3 separate regions of the Homo sapiens genome follow, and all the other regions are linked to region 2. Evidence: promoter capture Hi-C in human tissues and cell types (Jung and others, 2019). All regions are on one chromosome and are shown on one strand. Each heading gives the region's core, a stretch centred on a gene start or on the middle of the fragment in contact. The rest is flanking DNA. Distances are from core to core; before and after follow the strand shown. Region 1 overlaps ATP5PD (ATP synthase peripheral stalk subunit d). Region 2 holds the start of LLGL2 (LLGL scribble cell polarity complex component 2). Region 3 overlaps KCTD2 (potassium channel tetramerization domain containing 2).

Region 1 (4,076 bases), core at 614-3,113, 480 kb before region 2:
GCTTTGTTGAGGTATATCTGAAATATGATAAAATGCACATATTTAAAGAACACCATTTGATAAGTTTTGATATAGGTATCCACCTGTGAAACCAGCAGTCCCCTCTCAACCATCCCCAGGCAGCCACTGTAGACAAACTACATTTTCTAGAGTCTTACAAAGATGGAATCATATGCTATACTCTTCTTTTTCTTGTTGGCTTCTTTCACTCCGCATAATTATTTTGAAATTCGTCCATGTTGTTGCATTTATTGACAAGTCATTCCTTTATATGGCTGTTAACTCTTCCATTTAATTCACTCTAACTTAACTTAGCTATAATAGAGAGCTGTCAAGATCAAGAGAATTTTAGAATAAGCAGGAGCCTCAACTACTTACATCTTCTTTTTCTTCGGCATCCACCTGGGCAGTATATTTATCCTCTGGCACGGGAACCTTCAGCGCATTAAACTACAAACACAAGGGCACGGGAACCTTCAGCGCATTAAACTACAAACACAAGGACAGTGAGTCGTCGCCAATACACCCAGGAGCTCAAAGGGCTGGAAGCTACGAATCCTTAAAGGTCATACTGAAAGACATTCTGTGTCCCAAGCGGAAACGAATACGCATCTCAATACTGGAGTAGAAAGAATATTAGACTGGGAACAGGAGCTCAAGGGTCTTCTCAGCCCTATCACTAACTCGGAACCCTGGACAATTCTTTATGATGATAAGCTTCATTTTCTTCATCTGAAAAGGACAGCTGGACTTGATGACCAAAAAATGGCCTCTTAGCACCTTGAATTGTAAAGAAATTCTGATTTCTCTTCTGCATGGAACCCTAGGGAGCTGACTGGTGGAAGGAGCACTGCGTAATGAATGGTCTCCTTAGAAGACTGCTTAGTGTTAGCCGGGTGCGGTGGCTCATGCCTGTAATCCCAGCACTTTGGGAGGCTGAGGCGGGCGGATCACCTAAGGTCGGGAGTTCGAGACCAGCCTGACCAACATGGTGAAACCCCGTCTCTACTAAAAATACAAAAATTAGCTGTGCAAGGTGGCCAGCACCTGTAGTCCCAGCTACATGGGAGGCTGAGGCAAGAGAACTGCTTGAACCTGGGAGGCGGAGATTGCAGTGAGCTGAGATGGCCCCACTGCACTCCAGCCTGGGCGACAGAGCAAGACTCCGTCTCAAAAAAAAAAAAAAAAGACTGCTTAGTGTTATGGCTCCAGCACTTAACACTACCTGGCACAGAGTAGGCCCTCCATACACATCTTTGAATGAATAAGCAAATGAACTCTGGATATTGAGACTTGTGTAAATATCAGAGGAGGATAGATGGATGAGAAATTACAGCTATAAGGGACAGTTAAAAAAAGCAGAGGCTGGGCATGGTGGCTCACACCTGTACTCCCAGCACTTTGGGAGGCCAAGGAGGGTGGATCACCTGAGCTCAGGAGTTCGAGACCAGTCTGGGCAACATGGCGAAACCCCGTCTCTACCAAAAATACAAAAAATTAGCCAGGCATGGTGGTGCTGTGGTCCCAGTTACTCGGGGGGATGAGGTGGGAGGAAGGCTTGAGCCCGGGAGAAAGAGGTTGCAGTGAGCTGAGATGGCGCCACTGCACTCCAACCTGAGTGACAGAGTGAGACTCCAACTCAAAAAAAAAAAAAAAAGAAGAGCAGAGAGGTGGATTGCCTGAGCCCAGAGTTTGAGACCAGCCTGAGCAATATGACAAAAACCTGTCTCTACCAAAAAAAAAAAAAAAACAAAACGAAAATTTATCAGGTGTGGTGGTGGCATGCACCTGTAGTCCCAGCTACTCAGGAGGCTAAGACAGAAGGATGGCTTGAGCTTGGGAGGCAGAGGCTGCAGTAAGCTGAGATTGCGCCACTGCACTCCACCCTGGGTGACAGAGCAAAACTCCGTCTCAAAAGAAAAAGGACAGGAAAAGAGTAGAAAAAAAGTCAGTTTGTTCCAAAGGGAGACAGGAAGGAAGCTAAAAGGAACCCAGGAGGTGGGCAAACATTTAACTTGAAAGCCCCCTGGGGCGTGGTGGCGCATGCCTGGCTGAGGCACGTGGATTGCTTGAGCCCAAGAGTTCTGGGCTGTAGCGCGTTATGCCGATCGGGTGTCTTCACCAAGTTCAGCATCAATATGGTGACCTCCCAGGAGCGGGGGACCACCAGGTTGCCTAAGAAGGGGTGAACCGGCCCAGGTCAGAAACAGAGCAGGTCAAAACTCCTGTGCTGATCAGAAAGCCCTCTGGCTCCCAGATTAAGGCTACACTCTACTGCTGAATGAACAGAGCCTAAATTCCTGCACCTATTTACAGTTCAATCGACCACAAGGCCTTTGGCCATACGCATCCTTCCTAAGCTTCCTTAGGGATCTGGCTGTCATGCTGTGTATGTAATTATCCCTGTTCCTGCTCCCTACCCACAGGCATGTTACAAGCTCAGTGCTTTAGAGGTGTGAAGTCTCACCTTCTTCTCAAAGTCATCCACCAAGCCAGCCTTGGCCACATTGGCCTTGTAGTAAGCCCAGTCGATAGCTGGTGGATTCTCAGGTAAAGCAGCCAACCTGCCCACAAGGAAAGGCAAAAGTTAGGATTGTTCATAAGCAGTAGAAAATTCACATGGTAATTTTCCTATCCCTTCTTCCTATGGCCTGGAGGGTCACCACACTTTCCTCTCCTAAGATCATCATGAAAATGCAAGGATTTCTTTATATGTTGTCATAAGGGCATCAAGAATTCATATGTAATTCCTTAATACTGTTTTGTTTCTAGATTCAGTGGCAAGTATGGGGTTCCCTCTCAGAAACATACTGACCTGGAGGTGAGGGTCTCATTCCAGGATTTCAGGGAACTAGCAATGGCCTTTTGGTTCTGGGGTATGATCTCTGCAAAAGCTACCCAGTCAATGGTTTTTAGAGCAAGTTTTCGCCCAGCCATTTTGGGATCCTGAAAAATAAGTCAAATAAAAACAAGGCTTTTTTATGAGGTGAATTTTCAGTTGGGAAAAATGATAAATAACAAAATAAGAGCTCTTAGAGAGAATCCTTTAAATCTTAGAAACATGCAAGTCTTCACAAGAATCACTTGAACCCAGGAGGTGGAGGTTGCAGTGAGTCGAGACTGCATCACTGCACTCCAGCCTGGGAGACACAGCAAGACTCCAACTCAAAAAAAAAGAAAAAAAGACAGTGTAGCTTTTCAAATTCAAGGTAATTCAAGGTGTGCGGCCAGGCGCAGTGGGCTCACGCCTGTAATCCCAGCACTTTGGGAGGCCAAGACGGTTGGATCACCTGAGGTCAGGAGTTCGAGACCAGCATGGCCAACATGGCAAAACCCCATCTCTATTAAAAATACAATAATTAGCCAGCCGTGGTGGCCCGCGCCATAATCCCAGCTACTCCAGAGGCTGAGGCATAAGAATCACTTGAACCCAGGAGGCAGAGGTTGTAATGAGCTGAGATGGCATCAGTGCACCCTAGCCTGGGCAACACAGCAAGAGTCCGTCTCAAAAAGAAAAGGAAAGGACAGTGTAGCTTTTCAAATTCAAAGTGTGCAATGTGGCATACAAATACATTCTCTCCCAACTCCTATTTAGCCTTAAAAGCCCAGCTCTCTTGGCCGGGCGCAGTGGCTCATTTCTGTAATCCCAGCACTTTGGGAGGCTGAGGTGGGTGGATCACTTGAGGTCAGGAGTTCAAGACCAGCCTGAGCAATAGGGTGAAACCCTGCCTCTACTAAAAAATACAAAAATTAGCCGGGCGTGATGGCATGCACCTGTAGTCCCAGGTACTCAAGAGGCTTAGACAGGACAATCACTTGAACCTGGGCGGCGGAGGTTGCAGTGAGCTGAGATAGCGCCATTGCACTCCAGCCTGGACACAGAGTGAGACTCTGTCTCAAAAAAAAAAAAAAAAACAAACCCCAGCTCTCTTTATCCCCTCCATGTGCCTCTGGAAAAATTACTAAAAATAACACTCTTATTGCATAAAAGTTAATAAAGACATTTCCACCCAGATTGTGTTTTATTCACTGATTCTCCAGTAGACAGAAACTGACACACACCTAAGTTTCAACAA
Region 2 (4,055 bases), core at 264-2,763:
TAGAATCTCTTCTCTGGGAGCCCTAGAGCTTAGGAGTGGGCTATGGCTGGGTCTCACTCTAACCCTTTGTCCCTGCAGATTTGATGAGCCTGTCCCAGACCTCTGCAGCCTCAAGCGGTTGTCTTACCAGAGTGGGGATGTCCCTCTGATCTTTGCCCTGGTGGATCATGGTGACATCTCCTTCTACAGCTTCAGGGACTTCACGTTGCCCCAGGATGTGGGGCACTGACCTCACAGCTCTGCAGAGGATGGAGCTTGCTCCGGGGGACCGGGACTGTCTGTTCTCAGGGACCATCTCGGCTGCCTCCTGTACCCAGACTCTAACCTGTAGCTTCAGAGGCCAGTCTGGGCCTTGGCCCTGGGTGTCTGATACTCACAGAGTGAAACTGTGACCCTCTCCCTTCCCTGCTGCCTTGCAGTGACCCCTCTGGAACTCAGGACTCGATTTTAAGGACCCAGGAGGTGGGGCAGAAGAGAGGACTGTGTGCCTTTAACGAGAGGGTGCCTGCTTCGTGCTATAAAGCCAAAGCCATTAAAAATAGATTTCTTTTCTGCTGTTTCTGTATGTACTGGGTAAACCCCTCTCGCCCCCGTCCCGTTGTCAGTGGAACTGCCCCCAGCCCCTCACCCCTGCTTTGCCCACTCAAGGAGATCCGCTTCCTCTGGTGCGGGATCTAAGAGTGAGAGAAGCCCGCGGGATAGCAGGAACGCGACCTCGAACCTTTTGAGCCTTTCCCGGGCCTGCGTCGGAGGGGATGGGACGTCGCAGGCTTCCCGAAGGGAGGAGGGAGGACGGCGCGCCATCGGCCCTTCCCTGGGCGCAGCGGGGTGCGGGTGGCGAGAGGCGCCACCTGCAGCTGGGCGGTGGAGCGCGCTGCAGCCCCGGCCTCCGCGCCCTTTCCGCTCCCGCCTCTCGTCGCTCCAACCTCCTCCCTCGCTTGTGCTAAAAATTCCACCCGCTGTTGCAGACCCTCCGGCCGACACGGAGGAGGTGGGCGCCCCCCCGCACCCCCCCCCGAGGAAAGGCGTCTCGCCGCGACGCCCCGGTCCCTACACCATCCCTCTCGTGGGGCTGGAAACCCGGCCCTGCGTCCCCCGGTCACCCTCTCTGGGCTGGGCTCTGGCAGAGGAGCTGGCCCGGATCCGCCCCTCCCTCGGCAGCTCCCGGGAGTTGGAGGGACGGCTCCCCTGGAGTCTGGGAGGCGGCCCGGGACCGCAGGCGTTCCGGGAACTATTTCCGCTTGCGGGAGGCGGCGGGACACTGGGCGCGGCGCGCCGTTCTGCGTCCAGGTGCGCGCAGGTGAGGCCGGGGCGGGCCTGCGGAACCCCGAGGCCGTTCGCGAGGCCCCGCCCCGCGCTTCCCGGGGCCGCGGATTGGCAGGAGCGCAGCCCCCACCCCCGAGGGTGCCCCCGCCCCTGCGGCGCCGAGCTGGGGGGCGGGCCGGGGGCGGGGCGCTGGGCCCCGGCAGGCTCGCCCTTTATGTAAATAGCGCGGCTCCGCCCCAGGCTCGCCGCGCCGGAGGTGAGCAGGAAGGAGACGGCCGCCCAGCAGCCCGTGGGCAGGCGCGGCGGAGCGAGCGGGGCCGGCGGCGGGCGCCGAGGGACGCCGAGGCCTCGGGCGGGGGCTGGCCCGGGGTTCCAGGTGAGATGCGTGCCGGACTCGCCCAGCCGGGCCCGCCCCCTCGGGGCTTCCACCTGGGGCGGGGAGGCCAGGGAGGCCCAGGACCCCTGGGCTGTCGGGCCAGGGCGGGAGGGCTGCGCCCAGGTCCGCGCGCCTCGCCCCTGTCCGCGTCGCTGTGCTGGCCTGGAAGAGAGACACCTGTAGAAAGTTCTGCGGGAAACTTCTCTGCCTGATCTGCGCGATGACTGAAACTTGGGCTTGGGTTTGCACAATAATGTTGGCTTAGGAGAGCAGGAGAACAGGTGCCCCGGCCGGCTGGGTGCGGGGGGCACCGCGGGCAGAGACGGAGTCCCCGGGCCCACGTGCAGGCGCCAGGCCAGCGGGGTTGGCGACGCGCGTCTGCGGTGACCCCCTCCCCACGGGCGGCGGCCGGAGCGCGGTGCCCCGGCGGCTTAGCCCCTGCCCCTGCCATCTGGGCTGTGTCCCTGCCGGCCCTTTGTGCCTCCTAATCCCCGGACGCAGGAAGCCCGCGGGAGGGACTTCGGTCTCCGGCCTTTCTCCAGCTGGGGCGGCTTTGGACACCTTCACATGACAGTGCGGAGACCCAGTCTGCCCTCCATGCTGACGGGCGGGGTTTGCGCTGTGGGATTTGGCGAGAAGTGGAAAATTCTATCTTGCCAAAGAAAGTGTGTCTTAGTTTGTTCCGGCTGGACGATTGGTGGACACGCTGGGCCTTGGCTGTGGGGAGAACTGACCTAACCAGGGGAGCTGTAGAGTGGCGCTTTGAGGCTCTCACCTGAACAGGTGAGCTTTGAGTGAGGAGGGCGCCCCTTCCCCTGGGGATCCGTATGCGACTGCCGGCAGCCTTAACCTGGGCTCCAGGGACCCCCTGCTGGAGTTTGTAGTTCAAGAGAACCTTGAGTTCTCTTGAAGGGGCTACAGAGAGGATTCTGAGCAGGGAGCGGGCAGGGAGGGAATGGGTGTGTCAAGGTGACAAGGAAACGCTGGTAGGAAGAGCAGAGCTGCCACAGAAGAGCTGTGGCCCAGCCCGGGGGAAGCCAAGGTCAGAAGTGGCAGTTGAGGCTGGGTGCATTGGCTCACAGCTGTAATCCCAGCACTTTGGGAAGCCAAGGCAGGAGGATCGCCTGAGCCCAGGAGTTTGAGACCAGCCTGGGCAACATAGTGAGACCTCGTCTCTGCAAATAATAAAAAAAGTTAGCCAGGCATGGTGGCGTGCACCTGTAGTCCCAGCTACTCAGGAGCCTGAGGTGGGAGGATTGCCTGAGCCCAGGAGGTGGAGGTTGCAGTGAGTCATGATGGCGCCACCACACTCCAGCCTGGGGACAGAGTGAGACCCTGTCTCAAAAAAAAAAAAAAAAAGTGGCATTTGAGGAAAACTGTCTGGGTCTGTGTGAGCAGAGGCACAAGGAGAACTGTGCGAGAGATGTCTCAGCTTTATTTTATGAACTGGGATTTGGGGTTTAGTTTTCTTAGGCGATCTTCCCACAGTGCTAGCTGTGGCAGACAGAACTCAAACTCAGCTCTTAAGCTTCTAATCAGAGTTCACTCCTTTCCTCTGAAGTTAGACTGGGCCCATCTTTGTGGGGGCTCCTGGACAGGGTTTCCGGGGTCCAGGGTCATTTGGCATCCCCATTCTTCCTTGAGGCAAGGGAGTTTCCCCTTTGGTGTCAGATTAATATGCTTTTAATTATATTAAAATGACACTACATTCATAAATAAGAAATAAAATAGAAAAAAGTAACTTTTTTCTCTTTTTTTTTCTTTTTTTTAAACTAAGTTGACCAAATTCTTTTTTTCTTTAATAATATGTTTTTTAATTTGTAGAGATGGGATCTCACCATATGTTGCCCAGGCTGGTCTCAAACTCCTGGACTCAAGTGACCCTCACACTTCAGCCTCCCAAAGCGTTGGGATTACAGGTGTAAGCCACTGTGCCCAGCTGTTAGTAACTTTTTTTTTTTCTTTTTTTGAGGCAGAGTCTTGCTCTGTCACCCAGGCTGGAGTGCAGTGGTGCAATCACTGGGAGATGGAGGCTCACTGCAGACTCGACCTCCCAGGCTCAAGTGATCCTCCCACCTCAGCCTTCTGAGTAGCTGGGACTACAAGCGCGCAGCACCATGCACAGCTAATTTTCTATTTTTTTTTTAGAAAGGGGGTTTTGCCATGTTGCCCAGGCTAGTCTTGAACTCCTGGGCTCAAGTGATCCTCCTGCCTCCCAAAGTGTTAGGATTACAGGCATGAACTGCCACGCCAGACCCGTTAGTATAAATAACTTTTTATTATTTTTATTTATTTATTTATTTATTTTGAGACAGAGTCTCGCTCTGTCACCCAGGCTGGAGTGCAGTGGCGAGATCTCGGCTCACTGCAAGCTCCTCCTCCTGGGTTCACGCCATTCTCCTGCCTCGGCCTC
Region 3 (4,518 bases), core at 662-3,161, 470 kb before region 2:
ATCACGCCATTGCACTCCAGCCTGGGCAACAGGAGCGAAACTCCCATCTAAAAAAAAAAAAAGAAAGAAAGAAACCCTGTCTACTAAAAATACGAAAATTGTCTGAGTGTGGTAGCGGGCGCCTATAATCCCAGCTACTTGGGAGGCTGAGGCAGGAGAATCGCTTGAACTAAGATAGCAGAGGTTGCAGTGAGCTGAGATGGCACCACTGCACCCCAGCCTGGGCAACAGAGTGAGACTCCATCTCAAAAAAAAAAAGTTTTCTGGCTCTAACTGGAATATTTGGATGAATAACTGACACTAATGATGAAAAATTAACTCTTTTATCCACTTTATCTCCAGCAGTTTGCAAAAGTGAAGAGAAGGGCTTATTCATTTAGTTTTCTTCCATCTAGCTGACAGCTCAAAGGCTCCTTTTTGATGTTCAAAGGTGGCTTTGTAGTTGGTTTGCAGATTACCACTTGGAATGTGATCCAGTGTCACCAGTCTCTTTGCTATCTTACCTTTACGTGGTATCTTTCACTATTGTAGATATTTAATAGTTTAGACATTTTGGTAATCTAGCCTTATCCTCAGTTTCCCACATTCTAAAAAAATGATTGCTTACTATAGATTTTAAAGTACCATGAATTATGTAATTTGAAATGATTCAAGTCATGGTACCTGAACATTCTCCCTTCTTCGTCATTAGCTAATTCCTGGAGAGCATTATAAGATTTCTGTTTGATGACCGCAATTAAATTAATTAGTCTTCTAGATTCTGAAGGCTTGTGGATTTATACCCCTTTGGAAGCTTTTTTGTTCTAGGAATGTCAAGACCTTTTTGATGTTAACTATCTTTCCATCTGTCCTTTTTATGTAGTGAAACTGAAAAATGGATTTGATGTTATTCAAAGACACCCTCTTTTATACTTGTTGTATGTGGCTCTAAGATGAAGTTGGCTGTGTGTGGATTTTCGTTTTGTTTCATTTTGTATTTTTCTTTATTTTTTTGTGTGTGGATTTTCAAACATGTTACCTCCTTGAACTTACCTGTAGCCCCTCACACATGCAGGATTCAAGCCAAGCCCAAGATGTGGGCCTCAACCCTACCTTCGGTTTCATGACCTCTTAGCTCTTAGTGGCTGCCACCTAACTACTTTCCTCTGTTTCTTTTTTTTTCTTTTTTCTTTTTTTTTTTTTTTTTTTGGAGACAGAGTCTCGCTGTGTTGACCAGGCTGGAGTGCAGTGATGCGATCTCAGCTCACTGCAACCTCTGCCTCCTGGGTTCCAGCGATTCACCTGCCTCAGCTTCCCGAGTAGCTAGATTACAGGTGTGCACCACCACGCCCGGCTAATTTTTGTATTTTTAGTAGAGACAGGGTATCCCCATGTTGGCCACACTGGCCTCAAACTCTTGATCTTAGGCGAGCCACCAACCTCAGCCTCCCAAAGTGCTGGGATTACAGGCGTGAGCAACCATACCCAGACTCCTATTTCTTAGAATAGTATTTTTTGTAGGTGATTGATCCTGGTGCATTTGAGAGCACAAGTGGTTTACTTTGGAAGGGAGAAAAAAGAGGCAGTATAATGGCATCTTAAATACCTGGGACTTTGACAGCTGTGGCCAACATCACAGATCTTTTGTGATACTCTGAATTTTGTACTTATACAATTGGTTTCCAAAATAAGTGGTTACAACCAATTAAAATCTTCAGAGGATTTGTACTATATGTAATATGGAAGGAAATCTTTGAAATCCTTAGTACTTTGGTTAATGATAGCTATACCTCTTTTTTTTTTTTTTTTTTCCTCGAGGCAGAGTCTTACTCTGTCGCCCAGGCTGGAGTGCAATGGCGCGATCTCAGCTCGCTGCAACTTCTGCCTCCGGGGTTCAAGCAGTTCTCCCGCCTCAGCCTCCCGAGTAGCTGGGATTACAGGCACGTGCCACCTCACCTGGCTAATTTTTTGTGTTTTTAGTAGAGATGGGGTTTCACCATGTTGGCCAGGCTGGTCTTGAACTCCCAACCTCAGATGATCCGCCCACCTCGGTCTCCCAAAGTGCTGGGATTATAGGCGTGAGTCACTGCACCCGGCGATCGTTATACCTCTTTTGGAAGAAAACATAGAAGAAAAAATACAGCATTGTCGGCCGGACACAGTGGCTCATGCCTGTAATCCCAGCACTTTGGGAGGCCTAGGTGGGTGGATCGCCTCAGGTCAAGACCAGCCTGGCCAACATGGCGAAATCCCGTCTCCACTAAAAATCCAAAAAAATTGGCTGGGCACAGTGGCTCATGCCTGTAATCCCAGCACTTTGGGGGCCCAAGGCGGGCGGATCACCTGAGGTCAGGAGTTTGAGACCAGCCTGGCCAACATGGTGAGACTTCGTCTCTACTAAAAATACAAAACTTAGCCAAGCGTGGTGGTGGGCGGCTGTAATCCCAGCTATTCAAGAGGCTGCTGAAGCAGGAGAATCGCTTGAACTCGGGAGGCGGAGATTGCAGTGAGCTGAGATGGTGCCATTGCACTCCAGCCTGGGCGACAGAGCGAGACTCTCTCAAAAAAAAAAAAGGAAAAAAAAATAAAAAATTAGCTGGGCGTAGTGGCACATGCCTGTAATCCCAGCTACTCGGGAGGCTGAGGCAGGAGAATCGCTTGAACCAGGGAGGTGGAGGTTGCAGTGAGCCAAGATCACCCCACTGCACTCCAGACTGGGCAACAGAGCGAGACTCCATCTCAAAAATAATAATAAGGCTGGGTGCGGTGGCTCATGCCTGTAATCCCAGCACTTTGGGAGACCAGGGCAGGTGGATCATGAGGTCAGGAGTTCAAGACCAAGCCTGGCCAACATGGTGAATCCCCTTCTCTACTAAAAATACAAAAATTAGCCAGGCTTAGCGGCAGGCGCCTGTAATCCCAGCTATTCGGGAGGCTGAGGCGGGAGAATCGCTTGAACCGGGGAGGCGGAGTTGCAGTGAGCTGAGATCGCGCCACTGTACTCCAGCCTGGGCGACAGAGTGAGACTGTGTCTTAAAAAATAATAATAAATAGGCCGGGCGCGGTGGCTCATGCCTGTAATCCCAGCACTTTGGGAGGCCGAGGCGGGTGGATCACGAGGTCAGGAGATCGAGACCATCCTGGCTAACACAGTGAAACCCCGTCTCTACTAAAAAATACAAAAAATTAGCCGGGCGTGGTGGCGGGTGCCTGTAGTCCCAGCTACTTGGGAGGCTGAGGCAGGAGAATGGCGTGAACCTGGGAGGCAGAGCCTGCAGTGAGCCAAGATTGCACCATTGCACTCCAGCCTGGGCGACAGAGCGAGACTCCGTCTCAAAAATAAATAAATAAAATTATAATAATAATAAATAATAATAATTTTACCTTATTTTTGACTTGGGGAAATGGATTAAATCTAAGTTTGTTGGCATAGTTGCTCAAGCATTCATCCCTCTGAAGTTCAGAATTATTTTACCTTTTTTATTCTTTCACTCTTTGGATATGTTTTTATTGAAAAGCCACAGTATGCTGGCTTGTGGTCACTTAAAAAGAAAAACATTTTTTAAAGAGAAGGGAAAAAAAGAAACGCCACAGTACTATTTGTAAAAGGGGATAGTGGGTGGCTGCCAAGAAAAGATTTCCAAGCAAACTCCTTTTCAGTGTTTATTCATTTGAAGAGCCTCCTTGGGGCAGCTGCAAACTGTGGTGTCCTTGGTGCTGTTCTCAGTCTGCGCCTGGTCATTGCAGGGCCCCGTGAAGCACGTGTACAGAGTCCTGCAGTGTCAGGAAGAAGAGCTCACGCAGATGGTGTCCACGATGTCCGACGGCTGGAAATTCGAACAGGTACATCTCTTAACAGAGCAGCAATCCCAGGCCCCGTTCAAGGGGTCTGCAGCTCTTCAAACAATCAGTGTGGATGGCCAATTAATAACCACGGGAGACGGCTACGGCCAGGTGGGATCCTATTCCAAAACATGGGCAAAGAGCCATTTGGTGGGCACTGCTGGCCTAGTGGTGCGTGAGGAGTTGGGGAAACAGAGGAGCATCATGTCTTAGCTTCACACGCAGACTTTCCAGGGGAGCCAACGAGCAGTTTAGGCTTGAAGTGCCTCAAAGCCTTTGGTTTTTGTTCCCTCACAGGGATCGTAGAATGAGTCCCTAAAGGAGACTGGGATTCGACAACAATCCTTCCATTTCTTTTCCCAGGGTCAGAACTTTTTGGTTCTGAATGTCTTATGTAATCCACCGTGAAGAGCTTGGTGAACAGCTGTGCTAGGAAGGATCAGGCGCCATGGGAAGTGTGGTGCGGCCGTTTCCCCTACTTCTCTCCGCCTCGTGCTTACGACTGAGCTATCAAAACAAAGCTATGACAGTTGGAGCTTCACTGTTCTCCTCCATTAGATGGCAGACTTGTTAAATTCTGTTGCCTTCAAAACATAGGAAGGCCAGAGCGAATAGAGTAAATACAATTTTTTTTTTTTTTGGAAAGTCAAATCCCTTTCTTCATTCCATCCCTTTTAGACATGGCATTTAAAACAG

Evidence for each region. Contacts are between HindIII fragments. The study calls those that stand out against the background at their distance.
Region 1: a fragment that was not itself captured here is called in contact with the fragment with the promoter of LLGL2 in region 2 in 2 of the 25 tissues and cell types used here (IMR-90 fibroblasts and dorsolateral prefrontal cortex).
Region 3: a contact is called between a fragment that was not itself captured here and the fragment with the promoter of LLGL2 in region 2, in 1 of the 25 tissues and cell types used here (pancreas).

What each region holds. Positions count from the first base shown.
Region 1 is chr17:75,039,714-75,043,789 of GRCh38, forward strand. It overlaps ATP5PD (ATP synthase peripheral stalk subunit d), which reads right to left. Exons shown (of 6, transcript NM_006356.3): 2 at 2,816-2,946; 3 at 2,468-2,564; 4 at 379-450. The coding sequence starts at 2,937. It also overlaps a transcript of KCTD2 not described here and the pseudogene RN7SL573P. Among named protein-coding and RNA genes, the nearest start is that of ATP5PD, 5.2 kb to the right of the region's middle. RefSeq lists an enhancer at 1,554-2,124. The HindIII fragment of the contact is 3,720 bases long and covers 4-3,723 here.
Region 2 is chr17:75,524,184-75,528,238 of GRCh38, forward strand. It overlaps LLGL2 (LLGL scribble cell polarity complex component 2), which reads left to right and starts at 1,514. Exons shown (of 26, transcript NM_001031803.2): 1 at 1,514-1,642. TSEN54 (tRNA splicing endonuclease subunit 54) reads left to right here. Exons shown (of 11, transcript NM_207346.3): 11 at 79-552. The coding sequence ends at 229. RefSeq lists silencers at 880-979, 1,000-1,719, 1,036-1,220. The HindIII fragment of the contact is 8,139 bases long and covers 1-4,055 here.
Region 3 is chr17:75,055,784-75,060,301 of GRCh38, forward strand. KCTD2 (potassium channel tetramerization domain containing 2) reads left to right here. Exons shown (of 6, transcript NM_015353.3): 4 at 3,727-3,822. Among named protein-coding and RNA genes, the nearest start is that of KCTD2, 11 kb to the left of the region's middle. The HindIII fragment of the contact is 3,987 bases long and covers 1-3,905 here.